Regions from separate parts of the Homo sapiens genome. Here all the other regions are linked to region 4. The links are contacts of gene promoters, found by promoter capture Hi-C in blood cells and fetal thymus (Javierre and others, 2016). All regions are on one chromosome and are shown on one strand. The core of a region is centred on a gene start or on the middle of the fragment in contact, and the rest is flanking DNA. Distances in the headings are between cores, read along the strand shown. Region 1 holds the start of PPP2R2A (protein phosphatase 2 regulatory subunit Balpha). Region 2 overlaps TM2D2 (TM2 domain containing 2). Region 3 overlaps CCDC25 (coiled-coil domain containing 25). Region 4 holds the start of TTI2 (TELO2 interacting protein 2). Region 5 overlaps DPYSL2 (dihydropyrimidinase like 2). Region 6 overlaps PTK2B (protein tyrosine kinase 2 beta). Region 7 holds the start of THAP1 (THAP domain containing 1).

Region 1 (2,712 bases), core at 108-2,607, 7.2 Mb before region 4:
ATCCTATCAGGTAGGACTGTCATCTTCATCTCCTGAGCCTTGGAATCATATTAGGCAGCCTGGCTTCAGAGCCCAGCACTTTTTGTGTTTTTGTTTTTGTTTTGACAGGATCGCATTCTGTCTCCCAGGCTGGAGTGCAGTGATGTGATCACATAGCTCACTGCAGCCTTGACCTACTGGGCTCAAGCAGTCCTCCTACTGCAGCCTTCTAGTAGCTGGGACTATAGGCACGCCATCATACCTGGCTAATTTAAAAAAAAAAATTTTTTTTGGAGAGATGGGTCTCCCTATGTTCTCCAGGCCGAACTCGGAACTCCTGGCCTCAAGCGATCCTCCCACCTCGGCTTCCCAAAGTGCTGGGACTACAGGCGTGAGCCACCGCGCCCGGCCCTGAGCCCAGCTCTTAAGCACGCAGTCCAACACGTTTAGCTGGAGAGACGCCGGGTCACTTCTTGGGCCATACCCTCTCATCACAAACTCAGGTTTCTCTTAGAAATCACTCTTAGTGTCCGCAGTGCCTAGGACTCCCGCCTTGGATCCTGGGGCCCACGAGAAGGTAATTTAATTCACCCAGATAGAACCAGCCCAATCGTGTCCCTCTGAACCCCGTGAACTTTCACCCCGGCTGAGCAGTAAGTCTGCACCGCTGTCCCTTTCTTTGTGGTCTCAGGGCTAATCCAAAGTGACAATTTCCTAAGAAGCAGTACGGGGTTTTTTGTTTGTTTGTTTTTTGTTTTTGAGACGGAGTCTTGCTCTGTCACCCAGGCTGGAGTGCAGTGGTGCGATCTCGGCTCACTGCAACCTCTGCCTCCCGGGTTCAAGCAATTCTCACACCTCAGCCTCCCAAGTAGCTAGGATTACAGGCGCACACCACCACGCCTGGCTAATTTTTGTATATTTTTAAGTAGAGACGGGGTTTCACCATGTTGGCCAGGCTGGTCTCGAACTCCTGACCTTGTGATCCGCCCGCCTCAGCCTCCCAAAGTGCTGGGATTACAGGCATGAGCCACCGTGCCCGGCCCAGGTATTCCTAGAAGACATAGGACCCCATGAATCCTTGCAGGAGAGCACGTAAACTGGACTCCTAAGCCCGCCCCAGAGCCCCGGCGCTAGTGCTCGAGGCTGGGACACTGCTAGGTGCACACAGCCGCGGCCTGGCGCAGGCGGTGCGGACAGAGGGTATGCCATGGCGAGACGCTGGCGCGGCGCAGGCCCTGCCGGCCGGGACACGGAGGGCGGGGCACAGGCGCAGCAGGAAGGGGGCGTGGCCAAGAGCCGCCCGGCCGCTCCCCCGCCCCTCCCCCTCCGCTCTCCGCCCCAGCCCGGCGGCTCCGCCCCCTAGGTGACGTCACTGGCCAGGCCAGCCGGCGCCATTTTGAAAGTGGAGTCGCCTGCCCCTGCCGCTGCCGCCGCCGCCGTCGCTGTCGTAGTCGCCGCCGCCGCTGCCGGAGAAAGAGCACGAGCGGGGAAGCCCCAGAGTGAAATCTAGCATCCTGCCGGCTGGTCTGCCCGCCCCTCCTTCCTTTTCCCCCCGGCCCCCGTCCCCTCCCCCCGCAGGTGCCATCCGCCGCCATCCGCCCTCTCTACCCCCCCATCCCCAGGTGAGGGGGGTGAGTTCAGGAAGCGGAGACCCCGAGGAACCCAGCAGGGTCACCATTTGCAGCGCAACATGGCAGGTAAAGGAGAAATCCCCCTCGCCCCCTGACAAGGCACCGCTTCCTTATTCCTCCCTCCATCACCCCCTAGCGACCGCCCGCGCCTCGCGCAGAGCCACAGGGCGCCCCTCGGGTTTGAGGGAGTAGGGTCCAGAGGGGTGGGGTGGGGGCGGGGAGGGCTCCCGGGAGGCAAGTGGTCACGGTGAGAGTCACTGGGCTTGGAGAACGGGGCTGGCGCCGTGGCGGGGGTGGGGGTGGGGTGTGCCGGCGAGCTTGGGGTGAGGCGTGGGTGGGGCGGGGTGGGGGTGCGTGCAGATTTGTCCCTCCCGCTCGGGAGCCTGGTGGATCTTCTCCCACCTCCCCACCTTGCCCCCCGCCTTTATTTTTTTTTCCTGCAGGTCTTCATTTAATTTCTATTTTTCCCCCTGCTGCAAGCCTTCTTGGGTGTATATACACATTTATTTTGCCTCGAGAAGGAAGAGCGCCTTATAAGTTAAAATACAGTGGGGGCATATGTGTATTTTTTCCCCACTGTAGATGCCAATATTTTTGAGACTGGAAGCCTAAATTTTTTGTTTCGAACCATTTCGTTTCCGTTTCTTCCCTTTTACCGCCGAAGAGTGCAAGGCCTTTCATGTACAGCAAGTTGCATGAAAATAATTTAAACTTTGCGTTTAGCATGTTAGCTTTTTTGCAGATGTCCTTTTCCCAAAAGGGTTTGGTAGAGTTAGTTAAAATAGTTGCGGAGTTCAGAGATATAAATAGCAAGGAGGAGAGAGATTTAGGTAGAAGCTTTGAAGGGGAGGGGAAAGGATGTAGAGAGAAAACCAGTTTGGAAATAAATTTAGCAAGGAATAGGGGTGATGGGGGAGAGAGAAGTAATGTAATTGCTTTGAGAATTCTTTTTGTACATGTTGGTATTGCTAAATCTTTTCCTTCATGTAGTAGAATCAGTTGCAGATTTAGATTCAGTTTCTTTCTCCCTAGAGCCCCAGGACATTTTCAATCATTTCGACCTCAGTACTTGCACGTGAAATAGAAACATTCCGAGATGAGA
Region 2 (2,700 bases), core at 1-2,500, 5.5 Mb after region 4:
ATTTCTTTTTTGGTCAGAGTCTCACTCTGTTGCCCAGGCTGAAGTGCAGTGGCAGGATCTCGGCTCACTGCAATCTCTGCCTCCTCAGTTCAAGTGATTCTCTTACCTCAGCCTCCCGAGTAGCTGGGATTACAGGTGCACGCCACCACGCCCGGCTAATTTTTGCATTTTTACTAGAGACTGGGCGGGGGTGGGGGAGTGTGTCTCACCATGTTGGCCAGGCTGGTCTCGAACTCCTGACCTTAAAGGATTCACCTGCCTCGGCCTCCCAAAGTGCAGGGATTACAGGCTTGCACCATTGCGCTGGCCCTAAAGTTTCTTATTTTTTAAAGAAAACAACTTTTGGTAGGGTTATGAATATACTTAGGAGGTTAAAGTGTGAAATGAGGCAGGACTTGGTTAGGTGAAAAGTAGCATCTTATTTTGGGTAATATTATAATTTATGTTTTTTAGACTTCCCTTAGAAATTTTTTTAAAATATACATATGGCATCCTTGAACTCCCTTAAACTCTTTTATTTGTATAAATTTATAGGGTACCAGTACAATTTTATTTCATGCATAAATTGTGTAGATGAACCCAAGTTCTATGTAAATTCTGTGTATGTAGATTTTTCTGGGGAGAGGGTCTAGTTTCTTCATGACCCATAAAAATTTAATAAATACTATCTTAGGGTATAAAGATTATGAATTAAAAGTTTACCAATTGTTATGTTATAAGCAAGGTTAAGGTCAGTGTGGTACAGAACTTTCAAGACAGAATAGGATCATCTGTTTTAAATTTTTTACAGAAAATTGCCACCTTTAATAATGTAAAAACAGTGATTAATCAGGAATGATAAAGCAAGAAATTCTTAGGAAAGCTACAAAATGATAGAATGTATCCAGGGAAGTTATTTCAACTGTGATATTTGGTCTTAAATTCAATTATTATTAGGTAAACTGAGTGAGTTCTACCTTGTTTCTAGAATTTGTAAGTTATTCTGAGTAAAGCCTCTTCCATTGACTTGGCCACATTGCCCACCTTTGATTTTATATTTAATAGTTCTTTCAACTTAGATTGCAAACGATGAGAACTGAGTTTTTAAAACCACTTACAATCTGGAACATTTCCTTTTATTCCTGGTGACCGGGGAATGCAGAGGTGTGGCTGTTATCTCTTTCTGACTGCTGCAGCCCACAGGGAGAGCTAATCATGAAGAATAGTTTTACAGAAACTTGTATGAAATCTTAATTTTATTAGCATGGGCTGGTAAACGCTGATTTTTAGATTGGACAATTCTGCCAGGAGGAATAGCTCAACTCACACATCTGATGCCGCTGGCTTTCAAAACATAAGTGGAATGAAAAAATTATTGCACTGCATATACTGCCTCTGGAACATAATGGAGACAAAAGAGGGCTTAATAGGATGGCTCATTTCAAATGACTAGGTTTCTGCAAAACAAATATAATTTTGAGTTTATTCCCCCTACTGAAAATACTCATACAGTACTCCAAGTTGGTAAAATTTATTCTACATTTAAATTCAGAAAGTCAGAATTTCAGTGTGTATTACAATCCACGGCCATTTCTATTTCTGCTGAAGATTTTCATTGTTCAGCTTCAGATCTCCTTGCATGAAGACTCAGGGTCACAAGAGGAACATGGATCCAAATATTCATTTTGCTCAACTTGTTAGGTCCACTTGCTCCAAAGGACTGAAGATATAGCAATGTACAGAAAGGAAGACTATGGAAACCCATCCACAGCTTGTAAACTCGCCACTATCCTTTATGTTTTGTGCATGAGGAAAGGAACAAATTTGATTCCCCACAACACTTTTTGCTTGTCATTCCGTCTGCAAGGTAAAATCTGGGTTGAAATTCCAAAGTCCAAAGAAGCCTTCTTAACCAAACAAATGCCCTCCAAAAGAAGGAAAATAACATCAGGTCTGATATCAAAGAGGAGTTTTGAGCCTGTAGAGATGAATTCAGAAGACGGAGCTTTCACCCGCCTCCCTGGGCCATGATGGCAGCTCTTCTTAGTAAACAGTGCACCAGTTGCTGCCATCACTTGGCATCAGCCCTCCAGTAATTAGCAAAATAAGGTCAACAAACCACCAAATCCCAAGTCCTCCAAGCGTCAACAGCTTCCCTACTGCAGTGCCAGTGTGTCCCAAACAGAATCGATCCACACCAAAACATCCCAGGAAGAAGGAGTAGAGTAAAGTGGTTATGAAGTAGTGTCCGGTATACCTAGGTGAAAGGAATGAAAAGGAAGATGTTTTACTGCACGAAAATTTAAACCCTTAAGGATTAGTGAATTTAACGTAAGTGATGAGACAGTGCAGTGGACCCTCTGTGGCCTTTTACCCTCCATTTTGTTTTCTTTTATGATATGGTCAGTGAGGTGAGAGGATCAGGAAAAACCAAAGTTTATTATACTCATAGGTCCCAGAGACAGGAGGCACATCATGTTATACAAGGCTACCTGGCAAAGATACCAGGGTGGTTGGAAGATAGAAGGGAGGGGAAGGTTTTTGGCCACTATCTTCATTGGGGTTTCTGCAGGAAAGGCAAGACAGGGCAGGGCGAATAGTTTAGAACTGGCTAGTTTGAATAACCTCAGCAGGCTCTAAGCTATAGGAGTGGTCCCTGGTTGCCTGGCACTTGGACCTGAGAAGACTAAGGCAGAGGAATATTATTTCCTGGGGTGTACA
Region 3 (2,912 bases), core at 58-2,557, 5.7 Mb before region 4:
TAATGCTTTAAGTAGGACTGAGCAAATAGCCAAAAGGTAAGCAAAAAAAGGAAAGAGAAATTTAAAAAATCTCTTTCCCTCAGTCAGGCAAAGTTTGGCTCCCTGATGACACCTGCTGGCTGATAAAAAGAACAGACCTGAAAGCTTTTCAGTGAAAGTAAATCATTCCACTTAAATTGATGTTTCTATCGAGTTCTTGGTCTGAAGTCATAAACACTATTAGAAATAAATGTAATGGGCTAGGAATGCCAGACAATGGGGTGATTTAGAGAAGTAATGTCCGTTCTTACAAGGCAACCTAGGAAAAGTTGATACCTCCAAATGACTCTAAGAGTTCCCAGGGAAAAAGTGTTCCATACATACATACATTCACTTACTTCAGACAACAGATTCTCGCTGTCTCTTAAGCTGGAATGCAGTGGCATGATCACAGCTCACTGCAGCCTACCTCCCAGGCTCAAGCGATCTTCCTGCCTCAGCCTCCAGAGTAGCAAGGACAACAGGTGTGTGTCACTATGCCCAGCTAATATTTTCTTTTATTGTTGTTTTTTGTAGAGACAGGGTCTCCCTATGTTGCTCAGGCAGGTCTCGAACTCCTGGGCTCAAGTGATCCTCTCGCCTCAGCCTGTCAAAGTGTTGGGATTACAGGCGTGAACCACCATGCCTGGCCTCTTACGTTTTTTTCTACAAAGGTTTTTAATGACAGCAAAATGCCACTCCAGAGGGCTCTAAAAATATCATCTAAATTTATATCTGTGACATAAATTATGTATCTAGATTTGTATCTATATATTCCTACAATAGACATTCAAAGGATTCCACAATCTAGTCCATCCTAACCCACTCCTCCACAAAGCCTTCTCAGCTTTCAATCACATTTACTATCTCTGATCTGTCTACTTCGACAGCATTTACTATTCATGTTACTTCATTTTGTCTATACTTTTTAAAAAATAGACCTTAGTACTTTTTCATGATAATAAAGTTGTGACATTAACTTTGGGTGTGATTTAATGGTGAAGCAGTCTGCAGCATATTAACACTTGAGTTTTACATTTCTCCTACTAACCCATAAATCATCACAAGTAACATTGATAGTTAAAGCATTTTTCTTATGTAGCTTAGGAGGTGCTGCTGTCTCCCTATGTGAGCTTGTTCTGTTTCTCAAAAGCTAGTTTATCAAAGTAGGTGAAAACTCAGAACCAACAAACTGGGTGGGGGGCATGGAAGGTGGTGAGTGAGAGATAACACTTACCTGCTGAAAATTTCAAAATCAAATGCTTTTGAAAACTTACTTTCATATTTATCTTTTCCCATGTAAATAGTGTAGGCAGATGAATTAACTAAGATAAAACAAAAATAAAAAACAATTAGTAACTTCATCACCAACAAAATTGTTTCATGTGAAAAACAAGTGACAATTCTTAGACTAGGGGCTGGCAAACCATGGCCCATGATCCAAATCCAGCCTACCACCTGTTTTTGGACAGCCCTTGAGCTAAGAATGGTTTTTACGTTTTTAAAGGGTTGGAAAAAAAGCAAAACAAAGAAGAATAAGCCACGGAGATTGTAGGTGACTCACAAAGCCTAAAATATTTACTATCTGGCCCCAAAAGAGAAAGTTTACCATCCTTACTAATAGCTACTTTCCTACTTTCTCAGGGTTACAGTTCAATGGTATCGCCAGTCCAGTCCTATACTTTTGCCTTCTTTAAGAGTTAAAAAAAAAAGAAAAGAAAAGAAAACTAAACACCACAACTAAGTTCCCATGTTTACCAAAGTTTTATTGTGCATAATTGTTTTTAGCCAATATTACCCATATTCCAGGTGTGCTGCATATTCTAACAGGCTCTCTATCACATTCAGGGAGACCATGACTCTCCAACTTCTAAACCAGTGACTCTGACCCCTGATCTACATTAGAATCATCTAATTATGCCCCAGCTCCACCTCAGATCAACTCAATCCAAATCTCTGGTGGGCAAGAGTGAGCATCTGTGTTTTCTAAAAGCCTTCCAAGTGATTCTAATATAAGGTCAGGGTTAGAAACAACTATCCTAACTCAAATGGAATCTTCTGGGTATGGTTTATCCTAGAAATGATATTTGCTTTACCAAGGTGGTGTTTTATTGCAGACGTCCCTACCTTGGATTCCTACTGAAAGGATAACTGAGTGCCAGGTTTCAAAGCTAGTTTACCAAAACTTGTTTGATCCAATTGGACTAAACTCCTGAATTCATAGACACTGGGCCCTCAGGCTACAAAGCCTGTGATGGAGAAGTACTGAAAAATAAATACACACTGAAGCAAAGTACTGATAAGTGCAGGGTTGGGCTGAACAGCCTGCTGGCTATCACTCCACAGCACAGAACACACACATGTACCTGGAGCCCTGAAGGACAAAGGGCAATACGCTCTCCTAAATTAAAAAGCCTTATATCAGAGAGATGCCCTGTACTTTCAGTAATGAGAAGCTTCTTAAATGATCAATCCTAGTTGCCTTTCTCGGGGGAGAGAAAACTAATTCCTTTGTTTAACATTTATAATAACTGAAGTCCAGAAGTAGTTGAGAAAAGTACCTTGAAAGAATGTGTGCATCGCCAAGTTTATAGAAATGCTTGTCTATTATTGAGCATTGTAGTACCTTGATCAGGCCTTAGTGTAGCGTGTAACAAATGCCAAAAGGGTGGGAATAAAACTAAAAAGCATTTCAGATTTTCTCTGCATGGCCTGGCAATAGTTCAAGTGTATACCCTTTCAATCCTATAACGTCACTACCTATAATGTTACCATAATAGAGTACCAAAATACTCCACCAAGCAATAATCTTTTTACAACCTAAACATCCCTTAATAGAGACTCTTTAAATATATTACAGATTTGAACATCCATAAACAAAATACCATGTACCC
Region 4 (2,700 bases), core at 28-2,527:
CACCCTGGGCAACAAGAGTGAAACTCTGTCTCGAAAATAAATAAATAATAAAAAATAAAAATAAAAAACTGTGAGGCTCAAGTCGGTGGCAAAGGGCAGGAGTACTCACTTATACAAGTCGGGTTTGAGAAGCCCTAGTATCACCGAAAGTCTCCCTTTCTCATCTTCATTTTCTCCATGTAGGAATCCTGCCACAGAACCGCATTCAGTAACTTGAAGCAGTGAGGTGAGCACCTCCCTAGCAACTTCCCGAGATCTCGGAGTGGTCCATGGTTGCTCCAAGCTGTGTGTGATGGCAAAAATATAAACGGGTCCTGCCAAGTGATGCAGGCCCGTCTGCCATGCAGGGCCGACCAGGGAATTCTTAGCAGTCTCAACTTTCCCTAACAGTTTAAGAAACAGTAACCCAACTTGGGCTGCTTTCTCGGCCGCTTCGGAGTGCCCATCACCTCCACCTTCCTCCTCCTTGGAGGGGGCTGCATACTTCTCCAGGGCTTTTGCTACCTGCCCCAGTGTCTCCGGCATTCCGCGGAGCCGTGCACCAGTCCCCTCAAATAACCTATCAAATTCTGTGGCTTCTATTAGATCACCGAGGTCTTTAAGAACTGCATCTTTTACATTGCCTCGTCGTGCCTCCGGGCGGGCAAGACAGTGTAAAATCTTGGAGAAGGCCTGTCCAAAGGCGGAGTGAGACAACTCCTCGGACAAATTAGAGTCTTCCTGCGATGGGGCTTCCAGAGCGCTGTCAAGCTCCATTCCTGACTGCAGCACCAGAAGGCTGGTCTCTCCCACAGAACGAGGATGGAGGCGGGGAGGGATCCGTTGAAGAGGGAAGGAGCGATCACCCAAAGAGAACTAAAATCAAATAAAATAAAACAGAGAGATGTCTTGGAGGAGGGGGCGAGTCTGACCGGGATAAGAATAAAGAGAAAGGGTGAACCCGGGAGGCGGAGTTTGCAGTGAGCCGAGATCGCGCCACTGCACTCCAGCCTGGGCGACAGAGTGAGACTCCGTCTCAGTAAAAAAAAAAAAAAAAAAAAGAATAAAGAGGAAAGGACGCAAGAAAGGGAAAGGGGACTCTCAGGGAGTAAAAGAGTCTTACACTTTTAACAGTGACGTTAAAAGACTACTGTTGCCTTTCTGAAGACTAAAAAGAAAAAAAACTTAAAAATTTAAAGAAATAAACTTCTGAGCCATGTCACCAACTTAACCACCCCCAGGTACCTGCAACGGCTCGCGCCCGCCGGTGTCTAACAGGATCCGGACCTAGCTCATATTGCTGCCGCAAAACGCAAGGCTAGCTTCCGCCAGTACTGCCGCAACACCTTCTTATTTCACGACGTATGGTCGTAAAGCAATAAAGATCCAGGCTCGGGAAAATGACGGAGAGGTGGAACTATAGAGAATAAATTTGCATATATAATAATCCGCTCGCTAATTGTGTTTCTGTTTTCCTTTGCTAAGGTAGAAACAAAAGAATAATCACAGAATCTCAGTGGGACTTTGAAAATATCCAGGATTTTATACGTGAAGAATGGATGTATCGCATTACGGTAGTCACCCTATGTGTAAATTAGTGGCACATACTTGGCACTCCTTAATGTCAACTATAAGATGATCCTTTTGTAGTTCATGAGCGTGATGATTGGGTGTTCATACGCTTGTGTGAGATGTGCCACCCTTGAACCTTGTTACGACGTGGGCACATTACCCGTCTGACCTGAACTTCAAGGATCGATTTAACACTTGTATTTGTGGGCTTGTTACTTATGATAACAGGTGGCCTAGTTTCATGGCTTTGTGTTTACCGTTTTCGGGTGCCCTTTTTTCTGGCTGTATGCTACACGCACGGGTGCTTTTCCGTTGTCCAACTGTGTAATGTGTTTTTGTGTTTGTTCTTTTGTGAGTCGGAGTCTCGCGTTGTCGCCAGGCTGGAGTTGCAGTGTTGCGATCTCGGCTCACTGCAACCCCCACCTCCGGTTTTCGAGAGATTGTCCTACCTCAGCCTCCCGAGTAGCTGGGACTATAGGCGCGCGCCACCACGCCCAGCTAATTTTTGTATAAATATTGGCAAGGATGGTCTCGATCTCTTGACCTCGTGATGCGCCCGCCTCGGCCTCCCAAAGGGCTGGGATTACAGGCGTGAGCCACCGCGCCTGGCCAATGCAGAGCTTTTTAATGGCTTTAATTTTTTAGGTTTGGGAGATACCTGCGCAGGTTTGTTACCTGGATATGTTGTGGGATGCTGGGATTTGGAGTGCAGCTTAGCCCGTTTTCATTGCCCCCTCTAGTAGACCACAGTGTCTGTTGTTGCCACTTTTATGTCCACGTGTTCCTAATGTTTAGCTCCCACTTATGAATGAGAGCATGCGGTATTTGGTTTTCTGTTCAATGCAATACTTTAGCTGGTTTCTGGAGCTAGCGTTTTAAAGCCTGTAGCCACAAGCGTTTGAAAATTCAAATTCTAGCGTCAAGGTAGAAGCCCCCAGCTGGCGTCTGGGGCAGCCCTGAGGGAGGTGGGTCGTCGGGTTGGCGGATCCGGCTTGGGCCCGCCCCGCCAGTGTCGGCGCCGGGTGCGCAGGGACAGCAGAGCGCTGTCTTGGGCATGGGTCGCAGGCGGCGCCCGGAACGGGCCAGGGGAGCTGGAGGCTGCAGACTCGGGCTCGGCGGGTGTAGGAACCAGTGGTGTTTGCTTGGGTT
Region 5 (2,700 bases), core at 180-2,679, 6.9 Mb before region 4:
AGTGTTTTTCTACAGAAAGTATAAGAAACATTTATTTATTTATTTAGACAAGGTCTCACTCTGTCACCCAAGCTGGAGTGCAGTGGCACGATCATGGCTTATTACAGCCTCAGCCTCCCAGCCTCAACTGATCTTTCTGCCTCAGCCCCAACCTTCCCCTGCCCCCAGTAGCTGGGACCACAGGTGCCCACCACCACACTCAGCTAATTTATTTTGTTTGTTTTTGTTTTTTTGAGATGGAGTTTCGCTCTTGTTGCCCAGGCTGAAGTGCAGTGGCGCTATCTTGGCTCACTGCAACCTCCGCCTCCCGGATTCAAGTGATTCTCCTGCCTCAGCCTCCCGAATGGCTGGGATTACCGGCCCCAGCCACCATGCCCGTCTGATTTTTGCATTTTTAGTGCAGACGGGGTTTCACCATGTTGGCCAGCCTAGTCTCTAATATTTGTATTTTTTGTAGAGACGGGGTTTCTCCATGTTGCTGAGGCTGGTCTCCAACTCTTGGGCTCAACTGATCTGCCTGCCTTGGCATCCCAAAGTGCGGGATTACAGGTGTGAGCCACTGTGCCCAGCCTCTCATTTATTTTTACAAGGATCTCTGAAGTAAAAGTGTGAGGCCTGTTTACCTGTGGTTTTTTGTTTTTTTTTTCACCTTCATCAGTGCAAAGCAGGTGGAAGATTCTCCTCGGCCCTTTTTTACTTTTCCTCATTGCGCTGAATGGTAAATATGGTAAGAAATGCAGGTTGCAGACAGTTCTCTTCCTCGGTCAATTTAAACCATTTGTTTGGTATCTTTTATGTGCCAAATACTCTCTTAGGCTCTAGTCAGAACAGACAAATCAGTTTATACCTTACATTTTTGGATATTTACGAGTGGAAACGTCAGTTATTATGGACTAAGAACCTCATAGCAATGGCTATACAATTGAAGCCAATGAGACAGACACAAGCTCTTGGAAGCTTTTATTACAAAACAAACGATTCTATGGTAAACTGGTAAATAACAAGATATATTTAAACCCATTACGCTCAAACAACAGGGACGGGGGTAGGGAATACAACAAGAATACAAACAATATAATTATAGGTTACTTTGTTTTAAATTAATTTGAGTCTCTTTATTTACTCCCTTGCCAAGTAGTTTTTTTGTGAGCTAATAGGACACTCCTCTCCACTGCCCTGTCCTCCGCAAAGCTGGGACTGACTGTTGGTTTTTCACAAGTAGAGAGAGGCCAAGTAGAAAGGCGTATTTTAAGCTTTCTCAGACTCGTGACTTTAACCATTACCGGTTGACAGCAATACTTGCCGACATCATCTCACCTTGCTTGCGGCATATCAGATTGCTGGAGGGGGAAGTGCTTCACTTTCTCTTTCAGATGCACAGCTAAATTGAACTTGGATGAATTAACCATCGGTGAAACTTTGTGCGTGCCCTACGGCTACTTTCTGGGACTTCAGATTTTTAGAGATATAGGAGTGAAAAGGAGAATTTTACACCTTCTCTGAGTCTGGAAGGACAGACATTCCCCTAAAGTGGCTAAGGTGGTGAAGGGCAGAAAGATTGGAAGTCAGGCCCACAGCAGCTCGAATTATTCCGTATTTATCTAGCTAAGCTTTGCTGAGCAGGTGTGAGCCAATTACATACTCTTTCTTCCCCCACCCCCCAGCCCATGATTACGTAGGGATTCTATGTATCCTTCGACCTCAAGCAGAGAAGCCCGAGCGCTACGAGGGCTGGTCCAGATGTTTTAGTTATTGTACCTGCCAGGGCAACCTCCCACGGGGGTTGGCCTCGGTAGATTCCTGAGGATCAACTGGATCAGCGTTTTTCTTTCCCACGGACCCTGAAGTTAGAGCATCCCAGCATGGCTTGGACAGGCAAAGCTAAGGGGTCCCAGGCCTGCTCAATTGCTAGGACCACGAAGGGGCCTTGAGTGCCGTTTGAAGTGACAAGGCTCTGCCTGGGCAGTCAGGACACTCTTGATTTTAACTCCGATTCAGTAGGTTTTCCCCAAGACTCAGTTTCCCTTTCCTGTGGGATATAAACTCTTCCTTTCTTGCTCCTCCACAGCTCATCTCCTCCTCTCCGCCCCACGGTGCGGTGTGGGTCCCATCCACTGGCACTGTAAACCCTCAGGACCCCGGGGCGCTGGGATCGCAGCAGCTGCCCCCGACAGCGCTGCAGGCACCAGCGAAATGCGCTGCGCCCCCACGCACCCCTCAGGGAGCCGAGGTGGGCGTGACTGTAAAGCGGGCGCACAGAGCGCAGATCGCGCCACATCGGCCTCGGCGGGCTGCGGCTGCTCCCCATTCCTCCGCCCTACTAAGTTCCTCGCGGCCGGAAGGCACAAAAGGATGTTTCAGGGCGGGGTTTCCCATACCCCGCAGCCTTCCCCGGATGCCTCCTTCCCGGCTCGGAGTTGGAAGGGTTTCCTCAGGGCTCTCATTTCCTGCAGCCCGGCGCCTCCACGCGGGCCAGATCCCGTCTCTGCAGCCTCCCCCCGGCCCGCGCCCATTCCCCGCCCCCAGGAGCCGGGCCCGGACGCTCCCGGGAAGCAGCCGCCCTCTCCGGGGCCGGGCGTGGCCGGGCCCTCCCCGCCGGGTTCCCGCCCGCCGCCGTTCCAGTCCTCAGCCGCGCCAGGGCGGGGGCCAGGCGAGTTCAGCGCCAGCAACGGCGGGGGAGGAGGGCCCGGGAGCCCTCCC
Region 6 (2,700 bases), core at 149-2,648, 6.2 Mb before region 4:
GAAGGGCCCAGTCGACATTAGGTCTGTCTATTACAGGACTGAAAAATCATACATCCCCATGTTCTCACATTGGCAAAAGCTCACTTTCATTTATTCAGTCAACAAATGTCACTGAGTCAACTAGAATCTAGGTCTAGGGTGACGCATAAAGAGACACAGTCCTCCCTGAGCTCCCAGAACTTAACACCCAGAATGGGAGATGGGCTGGAATCAGACAGCCCAAGGAATCCATGCGCGATGCCGGCAAGCGCCGCAGAGAAGGAAAGTCATGCTGATGCTGATGGGAGACGGCTGATGCTCAGAGGAGGCCTGGCCTGGGCAGGGGTCAGGGAGGGATAGAGACAGGGAGCTGTCACAGAGGCCAGAGGACAGCCCAAGAGCATTCAGTGTTTCTGGTGCCCTTCCTCCTTCCAGGTCCCTCCCTCCTTCCAGCCCCGTTCCTCCACCATGGAAGCCAATGTGACTTGTGAGCTAGCTGGCTCCTGAACCGGTGGCAGAACCCCATGGCGATGCAATCATAAAGGGGTGGGGGTGGGTGAGAGGGCAGGATTTCCTGGGGTACGATGCCCCAATACACTGTGAACTACCAAATGACACGTATATTCTGTGAACTTTCAAAAAAGGATGTGAAAGACTTCTGTGCAAACATTTCACCTGGGATCTTTTCACTAGCAAGATGGGGAGAAAAAGCCAAAACTGCATTTCTCTCGCCCTCTGGGTCTAGATGTGGGGATTTCTTCTCCTTCCAGATGACAACCAGGAAGGGCCCCCAATTATTCTCGAAATAAAACGTGTCGGTCTTTCGAAATGGTCAGTGGGGTGATGTCTGGGTCCCAGGAAAGAAAGAAACATAGGATTTGTGCTTTTTGTTGATATGAAGTTAAGGGGTACAAGTGAGAGTGATTTTGTTACATGGGATACATTGCATAGTAGTAAAGTCTGGGCTTGTAGTGCAACCATCACCCGAATACTGTTTATTGTACCCATTAAATAATTTCCTATCCCTCACCCCCTTCCCACCCTCCTGAGTCTCCAATGTCTATTATTCCACACTCTATGTCCATATGTACAAATTATTTAGCTCCAGATTTAGCTTTTTATTTCTTTTTTGTTTCCTTTTTGTTTGTTTATTTGATATAGGGTCTTGCTCTGTTGCCCAGGCTGGAGTGCAGTGGTGCAATCATAGCTCACTACAGCCTCGAACTCCTGGGCTCAGGTGATCCTCCCATCTTAGCCTCCCGAGTAGCTGGGACCACAGGCATGCACCACCATGCCTGGCTAATTTTTTATTTTACTTTTTGTACAGATGGGGGTCTCACTTTGTTGCTCCAGCTGTTCTTGAACTCCTGGCCTCAAGCGATGCTCCCACTTTAGCCTCCCAAAGTGCTGGGATTACAGGCATGAGCCACCGCAGCCGGCCTGGATTTGGCTCTTTAAAGGAAAGAGCGAGCCCTGGACTGGGCAGGGTGGGAAAATGGCCCCAGCTCTCCCTCTGACTTCAGGGAGGGACCTTGGATAGGGGGCTTATGGGCTCCAGGCACCTTCTCTGTAAAATTAGGTCATACTAAGGGAGCTGGAGGGCCCTTCTCTTTCTGGTATCCCAGGTGGTCTCCCCAGGGGTGGTGGTTGTGGCTGAGGCCCACTGCCTGCTTTTCTGGTGCTCTCAATGAAGTACAGTCCTGGGGTCCTCTGTATGTGGATGGACTAGGCTGTGAAGTCTATCCGCCCCCCTGCTCCGCTCCACACCCACACACTGCTCTTCACTGATAACCCCGATGATGCAGACAGCCTCCCTCAGGAATTTTTCTCATCCTCCTAGTCATCATTTCAGTCAGCCCTGCCCCGTGTGCCAGACAAGCACACTCTATGTGTTCAAAGGTGATGCACCGATCGTGCCCTGTCTGATGTTTACTAACCAACCTGACTGGGTCTGTGGGTGACAAGGGCAGGCCCTGTTTCCCTTGGATCTTCCTTTTATGGACACAAATCGCTGACCTGTCTGGGCAGGCCTGCTCTAATCCAGGTCTGGCCCTGAGCCTCCTGTCATTTTGCTGACCCAGTTCATCATCCTGGAGGCAGGGCTTGAGTTGAAAAGTTAGAGCCTCAGGGCAGCACCAGGAGCCTGCACTTTCCGGGGCCTCCCCTTCTCTCTCCCCTAGGCTGACCTGTCCTCCCCTCTCCACTTCCTGGGCGTGACTCACAGGCAGGCCCTATCGGCATGGCAGGTATGTGTCATTTCCTTATGCTGGTGAGACCCAGAGTTTCAGTGTTAGCACCCCCACACTGTGGCTCTTCTAGCCCAATGGAGAAGGGCTAAGGGTTTCTAAAGTCGTTGACCTAGGGATTTACTGTTGGGATGAATTTCTCACCTAGGGGAGGTGTTCTGTTTTTGCTGAGAGATGACTGTGGGGAGCAGGGTTCTCTGCTCCTCTGACACTACTCATCCTCCTTCCCAACACCTGTGGGCCTTTAGCAAAGCAACACCCCACCCCCACCTTCACCCTGACCCCAGCAGTGTTTTCTTTCCCCCCACCAAGACTTCCTTGGGGCCCTCTGGCCTTGCCAAACCCCCTTTGTAGCAGCCTCCCCTTCCAGCAGTGACAGGAGGGACCCAGCCTCGGGAGCCTGTCTCTGAGAGACAGATGCAGGCAAAGAGCCGTTACCATGCAAAATCTAGAACTGTTCCCACGTGAAATCTAG
Region 7 (2,700 bases), core at 139-2,638, 9.3 Mb after region 4:
AAAAATGCATGGACACTCCCCTAGTAAACACAGATGGCCCCACAGCAAAAAAATAAATTAACTGAAAAGATATTTAACATTTTGCTTTTGTAATTATTTACCTAATTATAAAAGATAATTAGCTAATTACCTATGGCTAATCTGTATAGTTTACCCCTGGATCTGATTTCTTACCTATCATCTGCGTATAGCTGTCAGGAATTCTTGCAAAGAAAACTTAACATAAATGTAATTAAAATTTGTAAACAAATTCAGCTGAATGAAAATGTTATGTCACATTTTACAAGCGTTTATCATAAGTAATTACAACTCTGCACTTTTTTCCTATTTTCAAGAGAATATTTTTGATCCTATCACTTAACTGTGCTACCTACTGGATAAGACAGCTCTGAAAGCTGTGGGGCAGTTTCTTTCGAAAGAGCTTTCTCTATGCACAGGTAATGCCATAATAAATAAAGATCCGTGTGAGTCATTTTATTATGATCCATGTTGTAACTGTCCATATTATCATTATTGTGTGCTGAAAAGATAACGATTTATCTCGGCAGTACCTGAAGCTTTCTCCAAAATACAGGGTCCTTAAAGCTTAGTTCCTAGAGATTGGGGGCAAAAATTCTCCCTGATTTCCCAGCCAAAAAACCCTTAATTGCTACGATGCTGGCCTCCCATCCACGGCAAGGGCGAAAAGTAGTGATTTCTTCGTTTAAAGGCCTTTGTTTCTATTTTAAATTTACCCCTAAGACCATATTAAAACACCTGGCTGCTCTGTGACCCTGGTGGTGGCAAAACCCGCGCCACCCTAGGCATCGCCCGTGGGCTCCGAACGCGTCAACCCAGGCCGTGAGCGAAGCCTGCAACCAGGGCCTGTTCCAGGAGCGCGAGAAACGGCTGCCGCGGCGACGCGCGCCGAGAACGCGCGATCGGGCGGCGGTTCCCAGCGGGACGCGGTGGGAAACGCCCGACACGGCCGGCCCCAGACCCCACCCGCCCCTCGCGCGGACACGCGCCTGGCTCCGCCCCCGGCCCCGCCGGCCGCGCGCCCCCACCCCGGCTGAGACCGGCCCCGCGAGGCGCGCAGGGTCCTCACTTGTGGAAAGAAACGGGCTTGTCCTTGTCGTAGCGGTTCTTGCAGCCGTAGGCGGAGCAGGACTGCACCATCCTTCCGGTCCTCAGGCACTTCACTTCTGCCGCCGCAGAAGGCAGGGGAAGCTGTTCTCAGTGTCGCTGCGCTCGGTTGGATTCCCTCGCTTCTTTTGTAGCTTTGGCCAACAGTTACAGTGATGGTGGCCTCCCTCGGGGGTGACTAGTGTGCCCGTTTTGTTGTTTGCATTAGCAGAAGGACCACAGCCATCGCCCGTCTCCCATCTCCAAGATGGCGGAGGCAGCTTCAACCTCACCTCTCGCGAGGGGTGCGTCCCACTGTCTCTGATTAGCCCCGAGGTCAGAGGTAACGTTTCCTGGGAAGCTAACTATTGGCTGAGGCCAGGTGTTTCCGGCGGTGGCTTCAGAGTTGCCGAAGTGGGCGGAGCCCTGAGCTTCCGGCAGGCAGGAAGGAACTGCTTGTGGGGGGAGGAGGCGCGGCGGGAGGCCGGATTCCTGGGGCATCCTCCAGCCCCGGGCTGTTCCCGTGGGTTAATTGATGCGGACCTTTTCTGGGGCAGCTTACAGTAGGGAACAACTAGGGCCTCTTGGAGAACAGGTGTAAAGCCGAGGTCGTTGGCTGATTGCGCCCATTTCTTTAAAAGGGCGGACACAGATGGTGTATGATTAATAAAATTGTGGAACCTTTTCCCAGAGTGCTAATCTTTATCCCATTACCTGTGTCTTCAGGTATCACAAGTTTCTGTGAGAGCCAACGTGACAGATTTTTAGCAATGAAAAAAGACACACTCGCCAAATCATCTCAATTGCCAACGCAGAAGCGTTTTATATATATGTATGTATATGTATGTATATATGTGTGTATGTATATATGTGTGTGTGTATGTATATATATATATATATATGTAATTTTTTAAATAAATAGAGGCGTTGTCTCCCCACGTTGCCCAGGTCAGTCTGGAACTCGAGCTCAAGGGATCCTCCCATCTCGACCTCCCCATGGGTTGGGATTACAGGAGTTGAGCCACCAGGCTGTCCCTCCCCAGAAGCTTTTCTGAAGGCTCTCCATTGCTGTGATTTCCATGTGCTGTGTTGCAAATAGCGAACTGCTGCAGCAATTTTCACACCTGAGAGAGAATATGTTAGAGGGGTTCGAACTAGAGCGACTCTGTGTTGAGTGAGGGCTAGGAAAATGAGGCTGGGACTTGCTGGGCTGCATTCCCGGGAAGTTAGGTATTCCTAGCCTCTAGATGTGTATACCATTAAGGCAACAGATTGATAATGTTTACTACACAGACCCAGACTACCAAGTGTCCAGATATCCCGATATTTTGAGAACAGAAGCATTCCTAATTTTGCTTTAAAGATAATAATATTGGGCTGGGCACAGTGCCTCACGCCTGTAATCCCAGCACTTTGGAAGGCCGAGGCGGGCGGATCACTTGAGGTCAGGAGTTCAAGACTAGCCTGGTCAACATGGTGAAAACGTCTCTACTAAAAATACAAAAATTAACCGGGTGTGGTGGCACATGCCCTCGAATTTCAGCTACTCTGGAGGCTGAGGCAGGATAATCGCTTGAATCCGGGAGGCGGGGGTTG

What was found. Contacts are between HindIII fragments. The CHiCAGO score rates a contact against its expected background, and 5 or more counts as called.
Region 1: the fragment with the promoter of PPP2R2A here is called in contact with the fragment with the promoter of TTI2 in region 4 in 1 of 17 cell types (total CD4 T cells); the score reaches 5.7 in total CD4 T cells.
Region 2: a contact is called between a fragment that was not itself captured here and the fragment with the promoter of TTI2 in region 4, in 1 of 17 cell types (M0 macrophages). The highest score is 7.0, in M0 macrophages.
Region 3: a contact is called between a fragment that was not itself captured here and the fragment with the promoter of TTI2 in region 4, in 1 of 17 cell types (non-activated CD4 T cells). The highest score is 5.5, in non-activated CD4 T cells.
Region 5: a fragment that was not itself captured here is called in contact with the fragment with the promoter of TTI2 in region 4 in 1 of 17 cell types (total CD4 T cells); the score reaches 10.5 in total CD4 T cells.
Region 6: a fragment that was not itself captured here is called in contact with the fragment with the promoter of TTI2 in region 4 in 1 of 17 cell types (naive CD8 T cells); the score reaches 7.9 in naive CD8 T cells.
Region 7: a contact is called between the fragment with the promoter of THAP1 here and the fragment with the promoter of TTI2 in region 4, in 1 of 17 cell types (naive CD8 T cells). The highest score is 7.0, in naive CD8 T cells.

What each region holds. Positions count from the first base shown.
Region 1 is chr8:26,290,151-26,292,862 of GRCh38, forward strand. PPP2R2A (protein phosphatase 2 regulatory subunit Balpha) reads left to right here and starts at 1,358. Exons shown (of 10, transcript NM_002717.4): 1 at 1,358-1,676. The coding sequence starts at 1,670. RefSeq lists a silencer at 1,160-1,509. The HindIII fragment of the contact is 3,300 bases long and covers 1-2,445 here.
Region 2 is chr8:38,989,310-38,992,009 of GRCh38, forward strand. TM2D2 (TM2 domain containing 2) reads right to left here. Exons shown (of 4, transcript NM_078473.3): 4 at 1-2,236. The coding sequence ends at 2,023. Among named protein-coding and RNA genes, the nearest start is that of TM2D2, 5.8 kb to the right of the region's middle. The HindIII fragment of the contact is 6,930 bases long and covers 1-2,700 here.
Region 3 is chr8:27,763,909-27,766,820 of GRCh38, forward strand. CCDC25 (coiled-coil domain containing 25) reads right to left here. Exons shown (of 9, transcript NM_018246.3): 2 at 1,296-1,343. Among named protein-coding and RNA genes, the nearest start is that of CCDC25, 7.3 kb to the right of the region's middle. The HindIII fragment of the contact is 2,330 bases long and covers 143-2,472 here.
Region 4 is chr8:33,511,858-33,514,557 of GRCh38, forward strand. TTI2 (TELO2 interacting protein 2) reads right to left here and starts at 1,278. Exons shown (of 8, transcript NM_001102401.4): 1 at 1,225-1,278; 2 at 110-855. The coding sequence starts at 756. SNORD13 (small nucleolar RNA, C/D box 13) reads left to right here and starts at 1,618; the gene lies at 1,618-1,721. RefSeq lists an enhancer at 1,310-1,449 and a silencer at 1,880-1,929. The HindIII fragment of the contact is 19,476 bases long and covers 1-2,700 here.
Region 5 is chr8:26,574,718-26,577,417 of GRCh38, forward strand. All of the region lies in intron 1 of DPYSL2 (dihydropyrimidinase like 2), which reads left to right. Among named protein-coding and RNA genes, the nearest start is that of DPYSL2, 62 kb to the left of the region's middle. RefSeq lists enhancers at 1,400-1,569, 1,668-2,365, 2,366-2,700 and silencers at 2,170-2,369, 2,410-2,700. The HindIII fragment of the contact is 357 bases long and covers 1,252-1,608 here.
Region 6 is chr8:27,360,104-27,362,803 of GRCh38, forward strand. All of the region lies in intron 1 of PTK2B (protein tyrosine kinase 2 beta), which reads left to right. Among named protein-coding and RNA genes, the nearest start is that of PTK2B, 36 kb to the left of the region's middle. RefSeq lists enhancers at 1,482-1,641, 1,962-2,071, 2,024-2,554. The HindIII fragment of the contact is 3,430 bases long and covers 1-2,700 here.
Region 7 is chr8:42,841,937-42,844,636 of GRCh38, forward strand. It overlaps THAP1 (THAP domain containing 1), which reads right to left and starts at 1,389. Exons shown (of 3, transcript NM_018105.3): 1 at 1,088-1,389. The coding sequence starts at 1,158. It overlaps LOC124901940 (a long non-coding RNA gene), which reads left to right and starts at 998. Exons shown (of 2, transcript XR_007060901.1): 1 at 998-1,447; 2 at 1,831-2,700. RefSeq lists enhancers at 982-1,772, 1,108-1,467 and a silencer at 988-1,077. The HindIII fragment of the contact is 1,565 bases long and covers 584-2,148 here.